Linked DNA regions of Homo sapiens: region 1 is linked to region 2. The links are contacts of gene promoters, found by promoter capture Hi-C in blood cells and fetal thymus (Javierre and others, 2016). All regions are on one chromosome and are shown on one strand. The core of a region is centred on a gene start or on the middle of the fragment in contact, and the rest is flanking DNA. Distances in the headings are between cores, read along the strand shown.

The links. Contacts are between HindIII fragments. The CHiCAGO score rates a contact against its expected background, and 5 or more counts as called.
Region 1: a fragment that was not itself captured here is called in contact with the fragment with the promoter of MFSD2B in region 2 in 1 of 17 cell types (erythroblasts); the score reaches 6.1 in erythroblasts.

Annotation. Positions count from the first base shown.
Region 1 is chr2:24,342,328-24,348,047 of GRCh38, reverse strand. The region is part of intron 1 of ITSN2 (intersectin 2); the gene reads left to right. Among named protein-coding and RNA genes, the nearest start is that of ITSN2, 15 kb to the left of the region's middle. The HindIII fragment of the contact is 1,896 bases long and covers 2,305-4,200 here.
Region 2 is chr2:24,007,360-24,013,355 of GRCh38, reverse strand. MFSD2B (MFSD2 lysolipid transporter B, sphingolipid) reads right to left here and starts at 3,271. Exons shown (of 14, transcript NM_001346880.2): 1 at 3,164-3,271; 2 at 1-71. The coding sequence starts at 3,259. The HindIII fragment of the contact is 4,987 bases long and covers 1,647-5,996 here.

The DNA.
Region 1 (5,720 bases), core at 2,003-4,502, 330 kb before region 2:
CTGGAGTTCAGTCTCATGTTCATAGCTCACTGTAATCTCGAACTCTTGGGTTCAAGTGATCCTCCCACCTCAGTTTCCTGAGTAGCTAGGACTATAGATGCACACCACCCATCACACCCAGCTAATTTTAAAATTATTGGTAGAGATGGGGTCTCACTATGTTCCTAGGCTGGTCTTGAACTCCCAGCCTCGAATGATTCTCCCGCGTTGGCCTCCCAAAAGCGCTAGGATTACAAACATTAGCCACCGTGTTTAGCCTTATCTGTTTTTAATTGTTTAACATTTTGGTATATGTGGTTCATGTAAGATTAAAAAAAAAAGAAAACCCAAATTTACATTCATATTCTACAATTTTTTTTTTGAGATGACATTTCGCTCTTATTGCTCAGGGTGGAGTGCAATGGTGCGATCTCAGCTCACCGCAACCTACGCCTTCTGGGTTCAAGCGATTTTCCTGCCTCAGCCTACCGAGTAGCTGGGATTACAGGCATGTGCCACCACGCATGGCTAATTTTGTATTTTTAGCAGGGACGGGGTTTCTCCATGTTGGTCAGGCTGGTCTCGAACTCCCGACCTCAGGTGATCCACCTGCTTCAGCCTCCCAAAGGGCTGGGATTACGGGCGTGAGCCCCAGTGCCTGGCCTACAATTTGTATTTTTTTTTTAATTACATTATATAATAAACATATCCTATCTCCTATAGCCTTGAAATTGTCATTTGTAATAGGTAAATAATATTCTGAGTGAATGTAACTTTAATTTTTTGCTTCTTTCTCTATTTTTGGATAAATTAGCTTATTTGTATTTTTTCTAATATTGGTAAAACTGTACTATGCATCCTTGCAATCTATTTTTGTTCTTTAGATATTTTCTTAAGATAAATTTCTGCTGGTTGCGGTGGCTCACGCCTGTAATCCTAGCACTTTGGGAGGCTGAGGTCGGCAGATCACAAGGTCAGGAGTTCAAGACCAGCCTGGCCAATATGGTGAAACCCTGTCTCTACTAGTACAAAAAAAATTAGCTGGGCGTGGTGGCGGGTGCCTGTAGTAGCAGCTACTCGGGAGGCTGAGGTAGGAGAATCACTTGAAACCGGGAGGTGGAGGTCGCAGTGAGCCGAGATCATGCCACTGCACTCCAGCCTAGGTGACAGAGCGAGACTCCATCTCAAAAAAAAAAAAAAAAAAAAAAGATAAATTTCCATGTGGATCAAGTGGGTATTTTGTTTTTAATGAATGTGGTCAAAATTAGAGGCACATATTTACCTATACTCTTCTACTTCTGAGGTATTTGCTTTTTATAAAATTGATAGGCTTATTTTTTAAACAGTTTTAAATTTACAGAAAAATGGAGCGAGTAGAACAGAGTTCCCATATATCCCTTCATGTACCCCACACATAGTTTCCACTATTATTAATATCTTATATCAGTATGGTACATATGTTAGGAATAATGAACAATACTGATTGTATTATGATTAACTGAAGTCTATGCATTATTTCAGTTTCCTTAGTTTTTATTTAATATCCTTGTTCTGTTCCAGGTCACCACATTACATTTAGCTGTCATGTCTCCTTAGGCTCCTCTTAGTTGTGACAGTTCCTTAGACTTTCCTTGTTTTTGATGACTTTGACAGTTTTGAGAGGTTACTGGACAGATATTGTAGGAGATATATAAATATATTGTAAGTATATTGGAATTTGATGATTTGTCATGCTTGGACTAAGTTAGTGAATTTTTAGGAGGAAGATGACAAAGGCAAAATGATACTTTCATCTTATCAAGAGCACATACTGTCTGCATGCTTTATGACTGTTGATGTTGACCTTGACCAGCTGGCTAAAGTAGTGTTTGTCAAGTTTTTCCTCTCTACAGTTAATCCCCCACCCTCCTTTCTGTGCTATACTCTACGTAGCCTTCTGCCTTTCCATCTTTGTGGGCTGGGATACAGTCTTAGAGGTCATAGAGATAAGAAGGGTAGACACTGCTAGACATCGCAAGTGGTGGTGGTAGAAGGGTAGCGCAAACAATTTGGACTCATATCCATTTCTTCACTCCAAAATAAAATCCACGTAGATCAAATATATACATAAAACCCTTAAATCATAGAGGTACTAGAATAAAATATAGGACAATTTTCTGGTATAAGACCTGGTATGAGACAGGCCTTTCTTTGTATGACAAGACACTCACTAGTCATAAAAGAAAGACCAACAAATTTAAATTGGTATAATGAAAGATGCCCTAAAATTAAAAGACAAACAAGCTAGATTAAAAGCATTTATAGCATATGTTACAGGTAAAAGCTTACTATTAATATAATATCTATTATTGTAATGCATAGAAAAAGATCCGTGGATACAGGTCATGTTGTTAACAGCACTGGGTATTTTCAGAGACTGATGGGGAAGGATGGTCAAAAGAATTGGCTTTATTTGTATGTTTTAAGTTTTTACAATGAGAGTATTAATGTATTATGTGTCTATTAAAAAATAAATTTTGATCTACCCATCCTGTTGAATATTATGTAGAATCGAATGTGGTATTTCTGATGGGTATTATCTTAGAAGAAGGTTTAGACAATGTAAAATACATATGGGTATATATACGTTTATATAATATGTAAAAATAGGCTGTGAGAATGTACTTCAGTGGCTGATATGGTTATCTTGGAGATGGTACTGTGAGTGAGGTAATAAAGAATGACTGTCATGTTTTGCTCTTCATAATTGTACATTATTTGAAGCCTTTGCTTTTAAATTATTTGTACAGTAAAAATAAAAACATAGGGGAAAAAAGGCTGAAATGGGGGAAATCTGAGCTCTCACATATAAAGATCCTATAGAACCACACTATCCCATACAGTAGCCTTTAATATGTGGTTAATCAGCACTTGAAATGTGGCTAGTTCTATATTGAGAAGTACTCTAAGTGTATAATAAGTGTAAAAGCTGGAGTTTGAAGACAGTACAAAAATGTAAAATGTCATAAGAATTTTTATACTGATCATATGTTGAGGTGATAATATTTAGATATGAACTAATTAAAATATATTAATACAGATTTTACCCGTTTATTTTTACTTTTTATTTATTTTTTTGAAATGTAGTCTCACTCTATTATCCAGGCTGGAATGCACTGGCGCAATCTGGGCTCACTGCAACCTCTGCCTCTCAGATTCAAGCGATTGTCCTGCCTTAGCTTCCTGCGTAGCTGAGATTACAGGTGCCCGCCACCACGCCCAGCTAATTTTTATATTTTTAGTAGAGATGGAGTTTTACCATGTTGGACAGGCTGGTCTTGAACTCCTGACCTCAGGTGATCCACCTGCCTCAGCTTCCCAAAGTGCTGGGATTACAGGCGTGAGCCACTGCACCTGGCCTAATTTTACTTTTTAAAATGTGGCTACTAGAACATTTAAAATTACATTATGTAGTTTGTGTTGCATTTCCATTGAACAGCATGCTATAGAAAATGGGCAAAATAAATGAATAGGCAATTCATAGGAGAAATATACATGATAGATATATGAAAAATGCTGAGTTCCCTAATGATCAGAGAAATGAAAATTTAGAAAAAATTTGCCTCTCAGGTTGGCAATACATAAAATAATTGTTCATACCAAATATTGGCAAGATTATACAGAAACAAGTATGTTTACACACCAATGGGAATATAAAATGGTACTATTAATAAATTTTGGAAAGCAACTTGATACCCATTAATTCTACTTCTAGAAGTATTGTCCTACCTAAATACTCAGTATATATATGAGGATGAGGATGTTCAAAGTAGTATGGTTTGTTAGGCAAAAAACTGGAAACCGTCTTAATGTCCACCAGTGGAAGATAGCTTAATTTCTGGTATATCCATATAATAAAATGCTGTACACCTATTTAAAAGGATATGATTGATGTATTATATATTGCTATGGAAGGATATCTGTAATATGTGTAATGAAAATAATAGAATATTAATTGGCTAGCATAATTTTATTTGGGTTTGAAAAATAACATGTTTGTTTATATATGCATAAAATAAATCTGGAAAAACAAATACCAAACTGTTAACTGTGGTAATCAGGACTGGGTCTTCAGGTTCACCCCTCCTCCCCTGTCTGTGGAGTCCGCTTAGTAAGTTTTTCATGTTTGAGATTTTTGTGGAGCATGTGCTTATAAATTACATTTATTTGGAGAGGAAAGCTTAGTTAAGGGAAATAATGTTTGTGGAAAATTGCTTAGAGGAAATGGAGTATATTACTGGTATAGGTACTCTAAAATGTCTTTTGAATTAAGTCAGAGTTAGAGGGTTGTGTCTCTAAACCGCATCTTATTGGTATTATGCTATCAGCCTGTATTGAGAGACTTTATAGGTAAAGTCCAATTTAGGCTGTTTGGTATTATCTATTAAAATTAGAATGTTCATGCTCTCTAACCTGCTACTTCCACTTCTAGAATTTATCTTTGGAAGCACATATCTGTCCACAGACCTATATTTACACACATGTATGAAGAATGTTTATTGTAGCATTAATTGTAACATTTGTTAAAATGAACATGAAGGGAAACATTCTAGGCAGTGGTTACAGTACAAGCAAAAGCAGAGTAACTAGTGTGGTCTGGAAAAATAGAAGATTACTTATTCACTGTGAAAAATTGGTAACATGAAAAAAGCAGAACAATGAAGTATGACTTCATTTGTGTAAAAGTGGTATTTGCTAGTGTATAAATAGGAAATATCTGGAACAATCTATTCAAAACTGCTAATGATTGTTTTCTTGGTAATGGACTTTCACTTTCTATTATATATATATTTTTTAATGTTTAATTTTTCAGGTTGTTTTAAGGATCTTATGCTAATTGACATTTGTATCAGCTAGGCATTAACATTGTACTTATTTTTGTATCTATTGTTATGGTTCCTTGCATTGTTGTTAGCCTTTCACTTTTTTTTTTTTTTTTGAGATGGGGTCTCACTCTGTTACTCAGGCTGGAGTACAGTGGCACGATCTTGACTCACTGCAACCCCCATCTTACAGACTCAAGCAGTCCTCCCTCCTCAGCCTCCTGAGTACTTGGGACCACAGGCACATGCCACCTCGCCTGGCTGATTTTTTTTATTTTTGGTAGAGAGGGGTTTCACTGTGTTGCCCAGGCTGGTCTTGAACTCCTGAGCTCAAGGTGATCCACTTGCCTCGGCCTCCCAAGTGCTAGGATTACAGGCATGAGCCACTGTGCCAGGCCAGCCCTTCACTATTTCATGTGAGTAAGTAATCTTCTATTTTTCCAGACCACACTAGTTACTCTGCTTTTGCAGAGTAACCTCTGCCTAGAATGTTTTCCTTCACATTCATTCATTTTAACAAATGTTTTGATGTGTAGGGCCTAAGCTGATTTGAATGCAAGCTGAAATGCACATATCTGGTTGAGTCATGGGAACTGATTTGCATGTGTCTTTCTCTTTTATGGCTTGAAGAGGAGAGAAATTTGTGCTTAGACACTTGAGGGCCTACGAGATCAAGGAGTCTGTCCTTAGCTCTGCCCTTTGGACTGTTGTCTGAGCCTAAAGAAGAGAGACAAAGAAAGCTTGCATTGGGAGGCTGAGGTGGGAGGATCACTTGAGCTTAGGAGTTTGAGACCAGCCTGGGCAACATAGGGAGACTGCACCTCTATAAGAAATTTTAAAAATTAGCCGGGCTTGGCAGCGTGCTCTTGTGGTCCCAGC
Region 2 (5,996 bases), core at 2,022-4,521:
ATCTGGTTGGGGACCCCACCAATGCCATAGCACACCTTTGTACAGAATGAGAGGCGACCGGCTCTGCTGTCCTGGAGGAGACACAGGAACTAAGCCCTTCTCCCAACAGACACAAAACAGGTCCCCACACCCCATGACTTCAGTAAACATCCTGAGTCTCTGTGATGTCTTCAGGGCTTTTCCAGCAACCTCTCAGCCCCATTTTGCCCCCATGTCATCCTAAGAGGAAGTGAGACGAAGAGAAAAAAGATCCTAAACCCTGACCTCTAAACATTTCCAGGGGGGAAGTTCTTCTGGACATCTTACCCTGGGCTTCCTGCTGAAGCCGCCATCATTTACTGAGTCAGCACGGCCGTGTAAGCTGCAGGTCAGGAGACCTGGGCTTGAGCCTGCCTTTGTCACCTACCCCTCTATGTGACCTTGAATAAATCACATCATCTCTCTAAGCCTGTTTTCCTCATCTGTCAAATGCAACATCCCTGCCAACTTCACAAAGTTGTTTCTTCGATGAGTAAATGAGGCGATAGCTCATTTACCCATAGCCTGCCTACCCACAGCCCTCCAGGGATGCCTGGCAGGCGTCTCAGCTTAGCATGGTCTACATACAGCTCCTGATGGCCATTCCATTGTCTAATCCAGCTCCTAGCAAATGGCACCGCTGGTCCCCTCAGTGGCTCAGGCCACAAACTTAGGAGTCATCTATTCTTCTTTCCAGTTCTTGTCTATCAGTGAATGCCTCCTAAGTGGCTTCTGTGTCTGCCCTTGCTCCCTACAATCCACTCCACCCAGCAGCCAGTGCTCTTGTAATAACATAAATCGCACAGTGGCTCATCCCTATAAACCCAGCACTTTGGGAGGCCGAGGTAGGTGGATTGCTTGAGCCCAGGAGTTGAAGACCAGCCTGCCCAACATGGCAAAACCCCATCTCTACTAGAAACACAAAAATTAGCCAGGCATAGTGGCCGCCTGTAATCCCAGCTACTCAGGAGGCTGAGGCAAGAGAATTGCTTGAACCAGGGAGGCAGAGGTTGCAGTGAGCAAATATCACACCACTGCACTCCAGCCTGGGTGACAGAGACTCAGTCATAAATAAATAAATAAATAATCAGATCCCATCTCCTCTCTGATTAAAACTCTCCAATGGCTTGCTATTGCAGGGTTTTTTTGTCTGTTTTTGTGTGTGTGTGTGTGTGTGTGTGTGTGTTTTGTTTGTTTGTTTGTTTGTTTCCAGATCCATGGTATTCAGTCAATACCATTGCAGTTTGAATAAAACTCCAAGTCCTGATCATGGCTAAGGAGTCCACCCAGTCGGCCCCCTACCCACCTCACCTCAAATAGCTCTCCTTCAGCCACGCCGGGCTCCTTCCTATTCCTCAAAATCATCAAGTCTGTTGCTGCCTCAGGGCCTTTGCCCTTCCCATTCCTCTGCCTGGAAGGTGACTCCTTGTCATTCTGGTTTGATGTCACCAGCTTAAATGTCACCTCCTCCAAGAGGCATTCCCTAACCTCTCACCTCTCTCAGTTGTACTTACCGCCTGCTATATTTTCATTTAGTTCCTGCCTCTCCCTACAGGAATGTAAGCTCTCTGAGAGCATGAACTCCACCTTTTATTTATCATGGTGTTTCCAGTACCTAGAACAAAGCTTGGTATACAGTAGGTGCTTAGTATATATCCGTTGAAGCAATAAATGGCCATGAAGACCCTGTGTAAAGTGCTGTTTCTTTGGAAGAAGCTGGGCTCTTTTCTCATCGTTTGCTGGGGGCTGGAGGGAGTGGAGATGACATGGCTTCACCCATTTCCACATCTTGCAGGACACCCCAGCAGGCTCTTGTGAAGGGAAGGTCTCCCCAGATAAGGGTTTATCACACTTTGCACACTCTTCCTACCCACAGGGGAAAACCACACTGGGGGCAGGATGATTCTTTTCTGACATTTGTGTGAACATCATTTCAGCTTCCAGAAAACTTTAAGAACAGGCAGAATTCAACGTGACAGTCCCCCTCTCCCCCTAATGGGGACTCTTGTATCCCCCAAAACAGGCCTAGCAAGTTTTTAGAACTTTAGAAAGAACTTCCAAGTGAAGCCAGGGATATGATCCCATCTTGCCGTCTTGAGGATGACAGTTTTACCGAAAGTCATAAAAGCCCGGTACAGCTGTACAGTGAGCTGTACAAGGAGAAGCCCCTTGGGAGGGGCGGCTCCGGGCGAGGGGCGCAGCCCTGCTATCTCTAGCTGCGTGACCCAGGGCAGGGCACCTCGGTCTCCTTGGAGTGACCGGGGCTGCCACCCCTCGGAGAGTCGTAAGAGGATTCCACGCCGGAACTTCATCAGCAATGCGAGTGTTTCCCTCTTGCTGTTAATCTCACCCTGAATTTCTAAGTTTCCCTGGGAAGTGAGAGTCCCCGGAGAGCCCCTTCATCTCACCTCACTTTCTTGTGGGATGCAATCCTGTGCTCCCAGGTGCCTCGTAGGAAGCCCTGAACAGGCTGGGGGCTGAGGTGGTCAGGGGAGGCCACAGAATGCCCTGGGCACGAGCAGGGAGCAGGCGCGTTCAGTGAGGCCCAGGAAGCCCCAGGCCCCTTGCTCCGTCCAGCACAGCCCCACTGGCCAGCACGGCCCGGCGGCATCGGGCAAGGGACAAGGGGCCCCGAAGACCCCGCCGCTCCCACCTGCCCTCCTCCCTTCTTGTCGGAGCCCATGGCCAGGACCTTCCCTGAGGCTGCCTCCAAGGGGAGCCTGGTGCCTGGGCGAGGCCAGGGTCTGGGAGGGAGGCCGAGGCCACAGCAGCTGCCTGAGGTCGGGAAGGACGCAGCCTCCCCAGGCGCTTCAGAAAGCCCTGCCTGCCCAGAGCTCGGGGACCCCGGGAGGACCTGCGGTGGCACGGACAAGACCCCTAAGCCGGGAATCAGGACAGCAATGACCACGCATCCCCAAGTTACTTCCTTGGCTAGGGCTAGGCTTCCCGTCCTAGTCTCTTTCCGGCGCCGGCACCTACCAGCCTCCCCGCTCCCAGCCGTGTAACCCCGCGAGGGCAGCCCCTGAGCTGGCAGGTTTGGGCCGAGCCCCTCCGGGCTGCCCCCAGCTGGAAAAGGGGCTGCGAGGCGACGCCCTGGAGCTCCCCGAGGACGCAGCCCCTTCCCGGTCCCCGCCGCCCCGCTCACCTCTCGCCCTCGCTTGGCGCTCCCCGGGCCGGGCTCTGGGGCGTGCGGCTCCGGCTGCGGGGACCCCTTGGCGGCTGGTGCAGGGGGCGCCGCCATTGCCACCGCAGCGCCGCCCGCGGCCGTTGCCCTCGGGGTTATCGCCCTTGGGAGGGGCGGTTCTGGGCTAGGGGCGCGGCGCGAGTGGCTGCTGGCAACGCGGGGGAAACGCAGAAACCGCGAAGGGCACCCCAAAGGGAAACAGCGAAGAACCAAAATCCGCGGGGGGAAAGGCCCGGCAGGCCCTCAGGACCGTTCTCCTTGGGGTGGATCCCCGGGGGCGTGAGCGCCCGCAGACGGCGGCCCTGCGCGCTAAGGGCTCCGCCAGACCGCTGGGGTGACCGCGGGCAAGCAGCAGCTCCCCTGCAAAATGAAGCAAGAGGCCCGCTCGTTCAGGCTGGACCATGGCTGAACAGGCATTCCGCCGGCTACACATGATGCCCAACGCCTGAAATATACATTGTCGAGTCTCCTATACAGACCACGGGGATGGCCAGTAACTAAGTTCTGGCCAGCGAATAAAAGCAGGTGGCACAGGCCAACATTCCAGAAAAGTCCTTAAAAGGGAAGGGGGGTGACAGCAGGTAGCTAGTCAGCCTCGAAAAGGGCAGGAGAGGGCCACGCTTCCAACCAGGTACGTCAGGCAACCATCAGGCGACAGTCAGGCGGTTGTTATGCTCCCTCTAAAATGATCATTGATCCAGCGGGGCCAGGGAAAGGCAGTCTCCCAATAGATAGAGAAAACCTGAAACTGGTGATCAGCTTCTCGGTAAGATCTCAGGAGCTGGGCAAGTGGGCTTACACAAATTGCGGAGTTTAACTGACATGTGACCCTCGAAGGACACCGGACTGGTAAGGGAAGAACGCCTCCAGTGAGCATGGGTACAACTCCAGTATACACAGTGTGCACACTCCCCTCCCAAGTGCTGGCAGACCACTGCCCATGCAGGCAGGCCTCCCAAGGGAAGAATCAGGGGAGAAGGGATGCAAGACCCCAGAAGTATGCCAATGCATAAGACCCCAGGTCAAAAGGTCAAACTGTGCGCTTCTTTTTCAGGTCACCCGCTTGGCCCTCTTCCAAGTGTACTTTCCTTCCTTCCATTTCTGCTGTAGAGCTTTTTAATAAACTTTTATTCCTGCTCTAAAACTTGCCTCAGTCTCTCCTTCTGCCTTATGCCCCTCAGTGGAATTCTTTCTTCTGAGGAGGCAGGAACTGAGGTTGCTGCAGACCCATATAGATTCACTCCTGCTGACATATTTTGGTGCCACGTGACTCAGATACCTTCCACCAGTAACAGGGGTACACATTAACTAAAAATGCATCATAGACCTAGAATGTAAAACTTATGAAAAAACAGGAGCAAGGGACAGGCACGGTGGCTCATGCCTGTAATCCCAGCTACTCGGCAGGCTGAGGCAGGAGAATCGCTTGAACCCGGGAGGCGGAGATTGCAGTGAGCCAAGATCGTGCCACTGCATTCCAGCCTGGGTGACAGAGGGAGACTCTGTCTCAAAAACAAAAACAAAAACAAAACCAACCAAACACAAAAAACCCAGAAGCAACTCTTCATCATATTGGGCCAGGCAATTGTTTCTTAGGACGCCAAAAGCACAAGCTGGATGAACTACAAAAGTTTTCAAAATGAAAACCTTTGTGCTGTAAACGATTCCAACAAGTGGGTATAAAGACAACCCACAGAATGGGAGAAAAGGGATTTGTATTGGAATCAACTTTCACAACTCAACAATTAAAAGACAATCCAATTCTAAAATGGGCAAAGAATTTGGATATTTCTCTAAAGATATACAAATGAACAGTAAGCACATGGAAATACAAATCGAAACTACAGTGAGACACCATTTCATATCCACAGGGTGGCTGTAATTAAAATGAGACAAGTATTGGGGAGGATGTGGAGAAATCAGAACCCCTATACACTGCTAGTGGGAATGGAAACTAGTGACAGTCCTTTGGAAAAGTTTGGCAGTTTCTCAAAGTAAAACGTGGAATTACCACATGACCCGCAATTCCACTCTTAGGTGTATACACCCTACAGAAATGAAAACATGTTCACATAAAATCTTGAACATGAATGTTCATTAGCAGCATTCATATATATATACATATATATATAATGTGTGTGTGTATATATATATGCCAAAGAGGACACAAGCCAATGTCCATCAGGTTATGAATGAATAAATATAATGTGGTATATCCATACAATGGACTACTGTTGGGCAAGAAAAAGGAATGAAGGACCAATGCATGCTACAACACAGATGAACCTTGATGACAGTATGCTAAGTAAAAGAAGCCAGTCACAAGACTACAAATTGTATTATTCCATTTATGTCAAATGTCTAGAATAGGCAAATAGAGAGTGACAGAATGTACATTTGTAGTTGCTTGGGACTGGGCTAGGGAGTTACTGCTAAGGCATGTGAGGTTTTAGAATGGACAAACATTTTCTAAAGTTAAATTGTGATGGTTGCACAACCCTATAAATACACTAAAAACCATTGAATTGTATACTTTATTTTTATTTATTTATTTTTTTGAGACAGAGTCTTGTTGCCCAGGCTGGAATGCCGGGGCACGATCTCGGCTCACTGCAACCCCCACCTCCCGGGTTCAAGTGATTCTCCTGTTTCAGCCTCCCGAGTAGCTGGGATTACAGGCATGTGCCACCACTCCCGGCTAATTTTTGTATTTGTAGTAGAGATGTGCTTTCACCATGTTGGCCAGGCTGGTCTTGAACTCCTGATCCTCAGGTGATCCACCTCGGCCTCCCAA